Regions from separate parts of the Homo sapiens genome. Here all the other regions are linked to region 2. Evidence: promoter capture Hi-C in human tissues and cell types (Jung and others, 2019). All regions are on one chromosome and are shown on one strand. Each heading gives the region's core, a stretch centred on a gene start or on the middle of the fragment in contact. The rest is flanking DNA. Distances are from core to core; before and after follow the strand shown. Region 1 has its middle 91 kb from the start of PTGER2. Region 2 holds the start of PSMC6 (proteasome 26S subunit, ATPase 6). Region 3 has its middle 13 kb from the start of FERMT2. Region 4 has its middle 60 kb from the start of FERMT2.

The links. The method cuts DNA at HindIII sites, captures the fragments that hold promoters and counts their contacts. A contact is called where the count stands out against the background at its distance.
Region 1: a fragment that was not itself captured here is called in contact with the fragment with the promoter of PSMC6 in region 2 in 1 of the 25 tissues and cell types used here (liver).
Region 3: a fragment that was not itself captured here is called in contact with the fragment with the promoter of PSMC6 in region 2 in 1 of the 25 tissues and cell types used here (mesendoderm cells).
Region 4: a contact is called between a fragment that was not itself captured here and the fragment with the promoter of PSMC6 in region 2, in 2 of the 25 tissues and cell types used here (mesendoderm cells and thymus).

Annotation. Positions count from the first base shown.
Region 1 is chr14:52,403,988-52,406,687 of GRCh38, forward strand. No RefSeq gene overlaps it. Among named protein-coding and RNA genes, the nearest start is that of PTGER2, 91 kb to the left of the region's middle. The HindIII fragment of the contact is 6,411 bases long and covers 1-2,700 here.
Region 2 is chr14:52,705,794-52,708,493 of GRCh38, forward strand. It overlaps PSMC6 (proteasome 26S subunit, ATPase 6), which reads left to right and starts at 1,407. Exons shown (of 14, transcript NM_002806.5): 1 at 1,407-1,511; 2 at 2,516-2,595; 3 at 2,690-2,700. The coding sequence starts at 1,427. RefSeq lists enhancers at 958-1,067, 1,088-1,147, 1,448-1,697, 1,718-1,767. The HindIII fragment of the contact is 7,628 bases long and covers 1-2,700 here.
Region 3 is chr14:52,962,472-52,965,449 of GRCh38, forward strand. No RefSeq gene overlaps it. Among named protein-coding and RNA genes, the nearest start is that of FERMT2, 13 kb to the left of the region's middle. The HindIII fragment of the contact is 4,794 bases long and covers 1-2,978 here.
Region 4 is chr14:53,009,369-53,012,068 of GRCh38, forward strand. It overlaps the pseudogene NDUFB3P3. Among named protein-coding and RNA genes, the nearest start is that of FERMT2, 60 kb to the left of the region's middle. The HindIII fragment of the contact is 6,678 bases long and covers 1-2,700 here.

The DNA of each region.
Region 1 (2,700 bases), core at 139-2,638, 300 kb before region 2:
TCAGGCTCCATGCAAGATTCCTCATCCCAACCCAATCTCTAAACATCAGTGTTTCTCAGAGATTTCTTCCAGAGATACACTTCTCTTTCTCTTTGAATTCTTTTCTACATGATCTCATCTATGCCCAGAGTTTTAAATACTGCTTATGATACAGTATTATACTGATGACTCCCAAAATGATATTTCTAATTGGGACCCTTTCCTCTGAGCTCTACACTAGTAAGCTTGGCATCTGGCAACCTGATATCTTTATTTGAATAGACTACAAATATTTCAAACCTAACATGTTCAAAAAAGAATTTCTACCACAAACAACTTCCCAATCCCCACATTCAATTACACTTGACTCAAGTCAAAAAGTTTAGTAAAGCTTCATCCTCTCTTTCCCTCACCCTCCATGTTCATCCCACTAGCACTTAACCCAGTCCATCCATTTTTGTCTGCCTTGACTACCAACCTGGCCTAAACACCCATCATTTCTCACCTGCAAAACTGTAGTAACTTCCCAATGGCTTCTGCTTCTACCCTTGTTCCTCCATGGAACTCTTTTCCTCACCAAGGTGAGAGTGTCCTTCTTTGACAGTAAATCAGATCTTGCCACTTCCCTGCTTAACATCCTTTAATGGCTTTTCATTGTCCTTAGAATAACATCTAAGCTTCTTTTCCATGACTCCTAAGGCCCTGTGCAATCCAGCCCTGTCCACCTCATCCATCTCACCTGATGCCATTGCCACTCACTCATTCACCTTTTTTCAATGACACTGGGCTTCTCTCGTTGTCTCAGCCCTCAAAGTTCTTTCCTGCCTCAAGGTCTCTATATCTGCTACTTCTCTTTTGGGGAGTGTACTCACATACCTTTCACCTATCTATTCATTCTTCGATTTTCATGTGAAATGTCTCCGCAGTAAAGACAACACCAAACCATGTGAACTAAAGTGTTTTCATTCTGCCATCTGACCTCTCCCAACTTTATTCTCTATCTCAGGCCCATTATTGCCTTCATAGCACTGATTACACCCTGCAGTTTTTTTGTCATTTGGTTGTTTTTGTTTTTGTCTTTCTAGAATGTTAGTTCAATAAGGGCAAAAACTGTGTCCGTCTTAATTACCACAGTAATCCCAGAGCTTAGTACTATGCCTGACACAAAGTAGGTGCTCAATAAATGTGTTCAATGTTGAATAAATGTTAATGTACAAAGTTAGTTATGTTCAAAATGGTACAGGAGAGTGACATCAGCCAGATGATGGAGTAGGAGATGCCAACCTCTATCTCCCCACAAAAACTAACAAATAGGCAGATATCCATAAATGAAAATAGCTTTGAGAGGACTTAAGGGTCCAATTAAGAATCTGCAGAATGCAGTAGAGCAAAACGGAAAAGCATAACCCCACAGAAAGGATCACTGGGGAGATCAGCCCATCCAAGACATCTGGAGATGCCTAAGAACAAAGAAGAAGGGTGGGGGCTGCCAGTCTCAGTCACATGGTGGGTGTCACCACAGTCCTCTGTTCTCCAGAGGACACTGGCATATCTCACCACCAAGGTAACCAATGCCATCCTGCTGCAGAAGACCCCCAAGAGAAGGAGCTGCTGCTGTACTTCCTATTTCCTTCCAAGGGGGAACCACTGCCAACCCTCCCAACCCTGCATGTGACCCAGACCCTGGAGCTGCAGCTGCTTCATGTGTGAATGCACTCCAGACCCCAGCTCTGTGGGCACCCTGTGCATGCCCTTGCCTCAAACACCAAAGCTACCACTACTATAGCTAGCTCTGCCACAGGCCTTGAGGACTTGATAGTATAATCCAGAGAGGGTCAAAACATACATAAGATAGCTTTAAAATCTCGTGTTTCATCTTTAATGTGAATTTTACATTACTCTCCAAGATAGCTTTGTGTTTTATGTCAATAAAAAAGAATGCTATCTGTCCTCAGATAAAAGGTGATGCTTTATAAAGATGCTCCATTTTTCTGTCTGTGGCTGCATTTACCCCATTTTGAGATTTGCTCGTGACCCTAAGAGAGCTGGAACTCATCACAGGAATTGAATGTAGAGGACTGAGATCAAGAGAATGTGCAGGTTAATGTGAAAAATGAACTTGGAGACAGAAGAGCTAGATATGAATCTTCAGTTATCCATTTCCTGGGTGACTTTAGCAAAGTCAATTCAATTCTTTGAAATTTAGTTTCCACATCTGAAAAATAGGCCTGCAGGTTATATCTCTCTAAGAGTTGTAGGCTATTGTTTTTTAATCTTTCCAAGCCCTTCTTCCTTCACCTACCTATTTTGAGGACCAGTCTAGTAGTGTGAGATAATGCCCATTCTCCTTGAGAGGATTTAGAAATCAATGGGAACCAGCATAGACTAAGAACTCACCATAGTTCTGAAAACTGAAAACTTGATTATTTTTAAAAATAGTCACTTGTAAACATATTTTAAAATAATTCATAAACTAATAGAATATCTTACATATACTGTGTCTTGATTTTTATAAAACATTTGACAAAGTTTCTTGTGGTACTTTTTTCTTAATTAATAAAAAGCTATTGTTTTATTATATTCCACATTCATATTGAGTGGATTAAAATTCTGGGTGCAACATAAAGTCAAAATAACTGAATAATGTAACATGTTAAAAACATATTTCTGTCCAAAACTTGGGCCATGAGTCACTTTGAAAACAGTTACTGTGGTTTTTTT
Region 2 (2,700 bases), core at 157-2,656:
GAGGCTGAGGCGGGCGGATCACTTGAGGTCAGTAGTTGGAGACCAGCCTGGCCAACATGGTGAAACCCCATTCCTACTGAAAATACAAAAATGAGCCGGGCGTGGTGGCGGGCGCCTGTAATCCCAGCTTCTCAGGAGGGTGAGGCACGACAATCGCTTGAACCCGGGAGGCAGAGGTTGCAGTGAGCCAAGATCGCACCACTACACTGCAGCCTGGGTGACAGAGTGAGACACAGACTCAAAAAAAAAAAAAAAAAAAAAAAAATCTGGCCGGGCGCAGTGCCTCACACCTGTAATCCTAGCACTTTGGGAGGCTGAGGAGGGTGGATCACCTGAAGTCAGCAGTTCGAGACCAGCATGGCCAACATGGCGAAACCCCGTCTCTACTAAAAATACAAAAATTAGCCGGTTGTGGTGGCGCACACCTGTAATGCCAGCTACTCCGGAGGCTGAGGAAGGAGAATTGCTTGAACCCGGGAGGTGGAGGTTGCAGTGAGCTGAGATCGCGTCACCGCTCCAGCCTGTGCGGCAGGAGCAAGACTCCATCTCAAAAGTAAATAAATAAATACATAAATCTGAAGGTTCTATCAGACTTCAAAGTTCCTGCCTCAGCCTACTTCAGCATCTTTATCTTGTACCCCACATCTCTACAACCCACCCCCTACTGGTCTCATTGGCCTCCTTTCTGTTCCTGGAAGTGAGTCAAGCTTTCTACCCACAACCCCCACCCCACTCCACTCCAGGACTTGCACTGTTTGTTTAGGTTTTCTTCAGTTGTTGCAAGGCTGGCTCCTTCTCATCTCAGATATCTGTTCTAGATTAATTCTTCCCACCATACTTCTCACCGTGTTTTAATTCCTTCACAGTATTTGTTAAACTCTGAAGTTTTTTTTATTATTATTTCCTATCAAATGATAAGCAGATCTACCTTTAATACCTCATTCACTGACTGAATGGATGAATAAAACTGTCTACTTCTCCAGCACGTGGAGGTCTTGGACAGTACTGTGTTATAACAAAGGCCATCTGTGTTGTGTCGACAGGCCATCGGAACTCCTTTGAGGTATTACACATTTCCTACTTCACTTCCATCTCAGTTTATTACAGAGCCTTTTATACTTCCGGGACAGCAGTGACTTAATACTGAGGCCTCTCAGGGGAAGACCGGGATAACTGAGTCCTGCTTTACCTATCTCGGCTTGCAAGAAACGGTATAGGTGGAGGCCTCTTTCAGTGTATGCCGGCGCTCTAGGTGAACCGAGACATAGAGGTGGAAGTGGAGTAGAAAGACGGGGCCAACCGGAAGGGGAGGGCTCATGGGCGAACCCACCCCTCCAGGCAGGGTTTCGCCCCTCGCCCCGCCCCTTCCCCCGCCCGGACGGCCATGGCCATTCCCGGCATCCCCTATGAGAGACGGCTTCTCATCATGGCGGACCCTAGAGATAAGGCGCTTCAGGACTACCGCAAGAAGTTGCTTGAACACAAGGAGATCGACGGCCGTCTTAAGGAGTGTGAGTGCACCTTTCTTTCCATTTAATCAAGTGCCTCGACTCGCTTCTGCCTCTGACAAAGCAGAAGCCTTTCGCCGAGCCCGGCAACCGAGCCTTAGAGATGACCAGGCCTAGGGCCAGGGACAAGGCGCTTTGTCATCCGGCCCTGAGCTTGTGGAGCAGCACTCCTTCGGGTGTAGAAATGGCCCAGTCCAGCCCGGGTGACAGAACATCGGCGGCCTTGAGGTGAAAATGAAAAAGAAGTAGAGGAGGAGTGGGGAAGTGGGCCGAGGATGTTTCCCAGGTTAGGGTGCAAGAAGGGCAGTCTTGGTGGAGTCCCGGGACTTGGAGAGGGGAAGGCGCTTGAGTCAAGTAAGCTCAAACAAGAGATGAGACTCAGGGAGTCGGCTTGTTCTTGGAGTCGAAAGACGGCCGCGGAGCTTAAGAGAGAAGTGTTCCAGTTGTCATAATAACCCATATCGTCTTGTGTTTCGTGTTGTACTGTATCAGGCATACAAATTTCCCTTACCTCCTGAGTGCTTAACTTTTTTTTCCAGTGCATTTTCATTGAAAAGCATGAGTAGTTTAATTAAATGGAGGACCATAATTACATGATTCTGTGGAGAACTGCATTTGTTGACTTTATTTAGGGTAGAATGTCAGAGAACAATCCACGTGGGTAGGTGAAGAGGTGAGGAAGGGTCTAAGTGATTATCATTCGGATTTGTAGTCGCAAATCCTAAGTGTCAGGGTGTCAATATCTTCTAAGACTATAACTTAAGATGTGCTTAAACAAGTATTGCCGATCAACAAAGTAAAAGTATGGTGCTTTCTCTGTAACATTTTGTTGTTATACATGCCACCTACTCATTACAAACAGCATTATTTCTTTTATGGTTTGAAACAGTGGATGTGAAACTTAGGTAAAGTGAAGTAGACTTACGTAAACAGTAAAGTGAGACGTAGCGACTTAAACACACTAAGATTACTGTTCAATTAAAAATGTTCAAATTGTATTATTTCAGTAAGGGAACAATTAAAAGAACTTACCAAGCAGTATGAAAAGTCTGAAAATGATCTGAAGGCCCTACAGAGTGTTGGGCAGGTAGGTGATGGAGTTTGGGGAATAGGGGGTGATGGTAATTTGCTTTTTTATTTAGCTGTTGCCAAAAAGTAATGCTTTTTATTTTCTTCCTTAGATCGTGGGTGA
Region 3 (2,978 bases), core at 365-2,864, 260 kb after region 2:
CACCCCCACATTTGCATCTGAAGAAAACATGTCACCTCAAAATATGCTTCTTTTTTTCACATCTGTATGAATCAAAACTGCCTCTTTGACATAAAAATTATTTTTGAGCTAAAGGCAATTAAGATGCAGTAGAGGAAAAGCTCTCTTTATCCAACCTCCTTTTCTGCCTAAAGACAGGCTATAAATTCTCCTTTGCTGGAGACCACTCTAGACTCTTACCAACCCAAACATGGCACCAGAGTGATTTGCAAACAAATTTTATCTGTTAGTTTCCTCCAATATATTTAACTTTCCTTAGAAGTCTAAAATTGCTTTTCTTTGTCTGTTCTCTACAAATGTATTGTTCTTTGTTGAAGATGCTGTATATGCTGTATAAGCCATTGATCTGAGTTACTTTTCATTGAAATTTCTCCCAGATGATGTGTGCTGTATGCATTAATTAAATTGTTTGTTTTTCTTTTGTTAATCTGTCTTTTGTTATAGGCATCCCAGCTAAGAACTACGAGGGGTTGAGGGAAAATTATTTTTCCTCCCCAATACCTCTGTTTCTATCAGTCCACTGAGTCAGTTTTTTAATGTCACCAATAATCCTCATGTGGCATAAGAAATGGTGCCCTTTCCATCCTTTTCTTCGAATTCTCTCAGCCGCTTGCCCACTCTCTCTTTCTGAACACACACTCCTCTTGGAGTCTGGACATTGCCGTCTTTGAGCTTTTCCTCTACCTCTCTTTTCTCATTTTTCAGACTTCCTTGCTTTCTTGCTGGCTCATCCTCTAGCTGATCTCTGAAGTCAGCATGCTATAGTACCTCTTTTCTTCTCTACATACATTCTCTCTCCAGCTGATCTCCTCATACCTTGAGGCTTAAAATACTATCTCTCTGTTGATGATTTCCAAACCTCTAGCCCAGACCTGTGCTTGAAGCTCCAGACCTGTAGATCCATGTGTAGTAGGCACTTCAAACTAAAATGTGCAGTGTGAGACTCTGGACTTTTCCTCCAATATCTACTTCTGCCCCAGTATTTTTCATCCCATCAGATAATATCACCATTCAACCCATTTGCTCAACTTACAAACTAGGAGTCAACCTTGATTTTCCACTTTCCTTTACTGCCAGTCTGCAATGACTAGTTTAACACTACATCCTGTTGGTCTGTCTCTAAAACAGATCCCAAATTGTTCCACTTTTCTCCACCTCCACCACCCCACCCTAATCTTAGCTACTGTCTTCTCACTTATATTATTTATTCAGTAGCCTCCTAAGTGGCCTCTCTGATCTTTCCCCTTCCAATCCATTTCACTACACAGCAGCCAGAGTGATCCTTTAAATCTGTAAATCACAACATTTACTCTTCTCTTAATAACATCAGTAGCTTTCCATCACACTTAGAATAGAATCCAAACTCCTTATCATGGCTTGAAAGGCCTCACAGGATCTGGACCGTCTACCTTGCTGACCTCTTGCTCACTGTATCCAGTCATTCAGGACTCCTTACTTTTCTATCTTAGCACATACCATTCCCTTGGCCCCCAGGCTTTTCCCTGCCTCTTCTTGTGGCTCTATGTTTCTCAGCCCCAGTATCATCCCTCAGCAAGGCTTTTCCTGGCCAGGCAGTCTGTAGTAGCCTTTACCACACTGCATCCCCACCACCCCATTACTTTCTATTTCCTCATTTGCTTTTGTTCTCCTATAAAACTTACCAAGAATTCAAAATTATCACATTTGTTTGTTAGCTTATGATATTGTTTGGCTCTGTGTCCCCACCCAAATCTCATCTGAAATTGTAATCCCCATGTGTCCAGGGAGGGAAGTGATTGGATCAAGGGGGCAGTTTTCCCCATGCTGTTCTCGTGATGGGGAATGAGTTTTCATGAGATCTGATGGTATTATAAGTGCCTGGCATTTCCCCTGCTTGCACTCACTCTCTCTCCTGACACCATGTGAAGAAGGATGTATTTGCTTCCCCTTCTGCCATGATTTTAAGTTTCCTGAGGCTTCCCAGCCATGTGGAACTATGAATTAATTGAAGCTCTTTTCTTTATAAATTACCCAGTCTCAAGTATTTCTTTATAGCAGTGTGAAAACGGACTAATACAGCATATTTGTCTTCATCCCAGCCAGCCTTCTTTTCTACCATTATAAGAGCCCCTTGAAGGGAGAGACTTTCCAATTCCATGCACTGGCACCATTCCAGCTCCGTGGGCACAATTCATGTCATGATCATGTGAATAGAGGTCCCTAAGGCTCCCAGCCTTGTTCTACTTTGTTCACAGCCATATCTCCCAAGCACCTAGCATAGTACCTGGCACATGACTGGTGCTCAACAAGAATTTGATGAATGAATGAAAGAATGAAAGGGTGCATATCTTGGATTCTGTGCCACTAAGAAACTTAAACTCGTAAAGACTATTAGAACCAAGAGCATCAGCACGACATATAAATATTGATGAGTTTCTCAGCCCCACATGCTTTTTTAGTAGTGTGCTCTGATCTTTGAGCTGTAACCAAATATATCAATATGCATAGATCCTGTCCTTATCTTTGTCATAGACACTGTCCTTCAATCTTGTCTACTATCTTTGATTAGTCAACCCTGGCCCTTTGCAACCTAGCCTCACTCCTCATTCTCCTATGACTTCATCTCCTATTTCCCATTGAAATTGGAGCCAAGGGAATAACTCCCTTGATTTACTCTACCAAACCTTCCGGACTGTCAAAATCTACACAAGATGGTCTCTCTTCCTTCCCTGCCATTAGGCAGAAGAGGTGTTCATGTTCTTATCAAAGATTAATCCATCTGTGCCCACATCCCATTTCCTCCTATTCTCAATAGATTCTCCAGTGTTTTCTCCTGCATCTTTAAACTCTCTCCTTGACCCAGAGGCTTCTTATCTGCACTTAAATGTGCTCAAGTCTTTCCCATCATTTGAGAGGCTAGAGAAGAAGTCAGAAAGCCCTCCTCAGACTTTACTGTCTCC
Region 4 (2,700 bases), core at 101-2,600, 300 kb after region 2:
AGTTGAATATATCGCGAGAATTTTTCATAATTTCAAGGGAAATACTATCTAAATGATAAACTTTCTAGAGGCCAAAAATGAAAAGGTAAGTTCAAAAACATAAAACTAGAATTCTGTATAAAACAAACAGTAGAAGTATGGAGGGAAGAAGAAACAAACTGGGGAAAAACCGTCCTACATGTACATTGACAAAACGTGATTTCCCCTGATATGTAGAGTTCAACAAGTCAAAACAAACAGCAATGTGATAGAAAACAGGCAGAGAACATGGTTCACAGAACAGAACATGCAAGTGGCTCTCAAACATAGGCAAAGATGCTTGACATTGGATAAAGATGAAACCAAATTAAAATGATAAGGTATTATTTTTTAACCTATCAATTGGGATTGGTAAAAAAGTTGGAATATTCTGTGCTAAGGGATGGGGAAACAGGCCCTCTCTTTTTCTTTTTTTTGAGACACAGTCTCACTCTCTCACCTAGGTTGGAGTGCAGTGGTGTGATCTCGGCTCACTGCAACCTCCACCTCCCAGGTTCAAGTGATTCTCCTGCCTCAGCCTCCAGAGTAGCTGGCACTACAGGTGCATGCCACCACACCCGGCTAATTTTTTTTTTTTTGTATTAGTAGAGACAAGTTTTCACCATAGCCAGATTGGTTTCGAACCTGACTTCAGGCGATCTGCCTGCCTCAGCCTCCCAAAGTGCTGGGATGACAGGCGTGAGCCGCCACACTGGACCGGAAACAGGTACTCTCATACCTGTGCGTATAAATTGGTACAATCTCCATGAAGGGCAATTTGACGAAATATCTATCAAAGTATCCAAATTTGACATAGAAATCTCACCTCTAGAAATTTTACCCACACATGATATATTTTAAAAGATTGTCACTGAAGCACAGTTTGTAATAGGGAAAGATGGAAAATAACCAACATGTATATAAACAGGGTACTGTTTATCTAGTGAAAATGAACAAATAAGGCAGTTCTGTTTGTACTGACATGAAGCAGTTTTCAAGGTTGTTTAGAAAAACAAAGAGAATATTGTGTAATGTATGCCATTTGTACAAAAACAATTACATATACCAGACGTGCTTATATATGCAAAGAATATTTCTGGGAAAATACACAAGAAACTTGCTTCCAGGAAGAACTAGGTGGCTGGGGAAAACAGAAGTTAGACACTTCTTATTTTATAGTTTTTTGAATATTTTGGGTGAATATTATGAATATATTCTCTATTCACTATTGTTAATACAAAAATGAAAAGGAAGCAATGTTTTGACACCCAAAGGCTCTCTCCAGGACTTAAAAGGGAGGCGTGTTTTTTAGGCAAGAAAGAGCCAGTGAATGCCCCTCTGTGGGAGCAAAAGAAGAGAACGCCCACTGCATTTTTAAAGTACAGCTTAAAATAGTGTGTTGCAAAGCTCAGTGGGCTCAGCCCTTTATGATTGTTGGTTAGAAGACTGTCAGGGATCATTTTCCAAATGCCAACTTACACTCCTCTGTCATCCAGAAAGTTCTTATTCCTGTGAGAATTTTTAGAATTTAGAGAATGGCTGGTAGGGCTGACAGCCCCATGTAAAGCAGGTGGGGAAACTTCAGAGGAGTGGTCCCCATGCATCTATTTCTCATTGTTTTCTTTCCTTGTTCCAGCCAGTGCTGCTGCTCCTCTTTCCTGGGTCCAGCCTTTGACGTAAACTCTGCAGCTGAGAACCCTGACCTCTCTCCCCGCTTCCCTGTCTTACTTAAGCCTGGAACAGCTCTTAAGCCTGGCACCTCTGCAGCTGTGACTCATTGCAAATGCTTTGCATTCCGGGATGTTCTTCAGGGTTTTGGGTCTCCCTTGTGGCTCAAAGAACCATGCAAGTTGAAAGGGAGGAGAAAAAGAGGCCCTGCAGCTGCCAAAACATTGCAGACATGAGGCGGGAAATTGTTAGGAAAACTGAAAAGGTTTTGTGCTGGAAGAACCCCAGCCAGCCACTCCCTCGCTTGGGCCTGCTTGTAACTGGAGCAGAGCTAGGGGACGCCTCCGTGGAAGCTGAGTCAACTGTGGGTTGTCCCAGCCCCCATGAGGTTCCATTCACAGACCCAGAGGCACCACACCCCATCTGGAGACCATCTCCATGTGTCCATGAAGGACTGGGTTAAAGCCACTCTGGAAAGCAGAAATGGGGGTGTCATCTAGAAGTATTGTTCGTCTCAAGTGTTAGTTTACCTTTACGTCACTGGAATGATTTTGTCAGCTTGTTCTGCCTCCTCACCACCTTCAGCTGTACACAATTTATGTTTATATTCAGGTCAATTGACATCTACTCTTATGACAGCTGTGTTCTTCCCTGACCCTTAAAGCTATGAGACCCTATGTTGAAGGTCTTTAGGTAAAAGAAATTAGTGTCTTGCTGTCCATTGTTAATTCAATGGAGATGGGGGAGGGTAAGCTGTGCCTTCTCACCTTCACTTCTTTCCTGATCCTCTATAAAGACTCCAATTGGGCATAATTTTAAAAACCTTTTAAATAAACTTTATCGATGTAAACTTACATATAAGAAAACACACCCGGGTTGGCTCCGGTTGCAGAGTTGAGTGTCCTGAGAGGTCAGAATGCCGTCAGACATGGCTCATGAACATGGACGTAGTAAAATGGAACTTCCAGATTATAAACAATGGAAGATAGAAGGGACACCATTAGAAACTGTCAA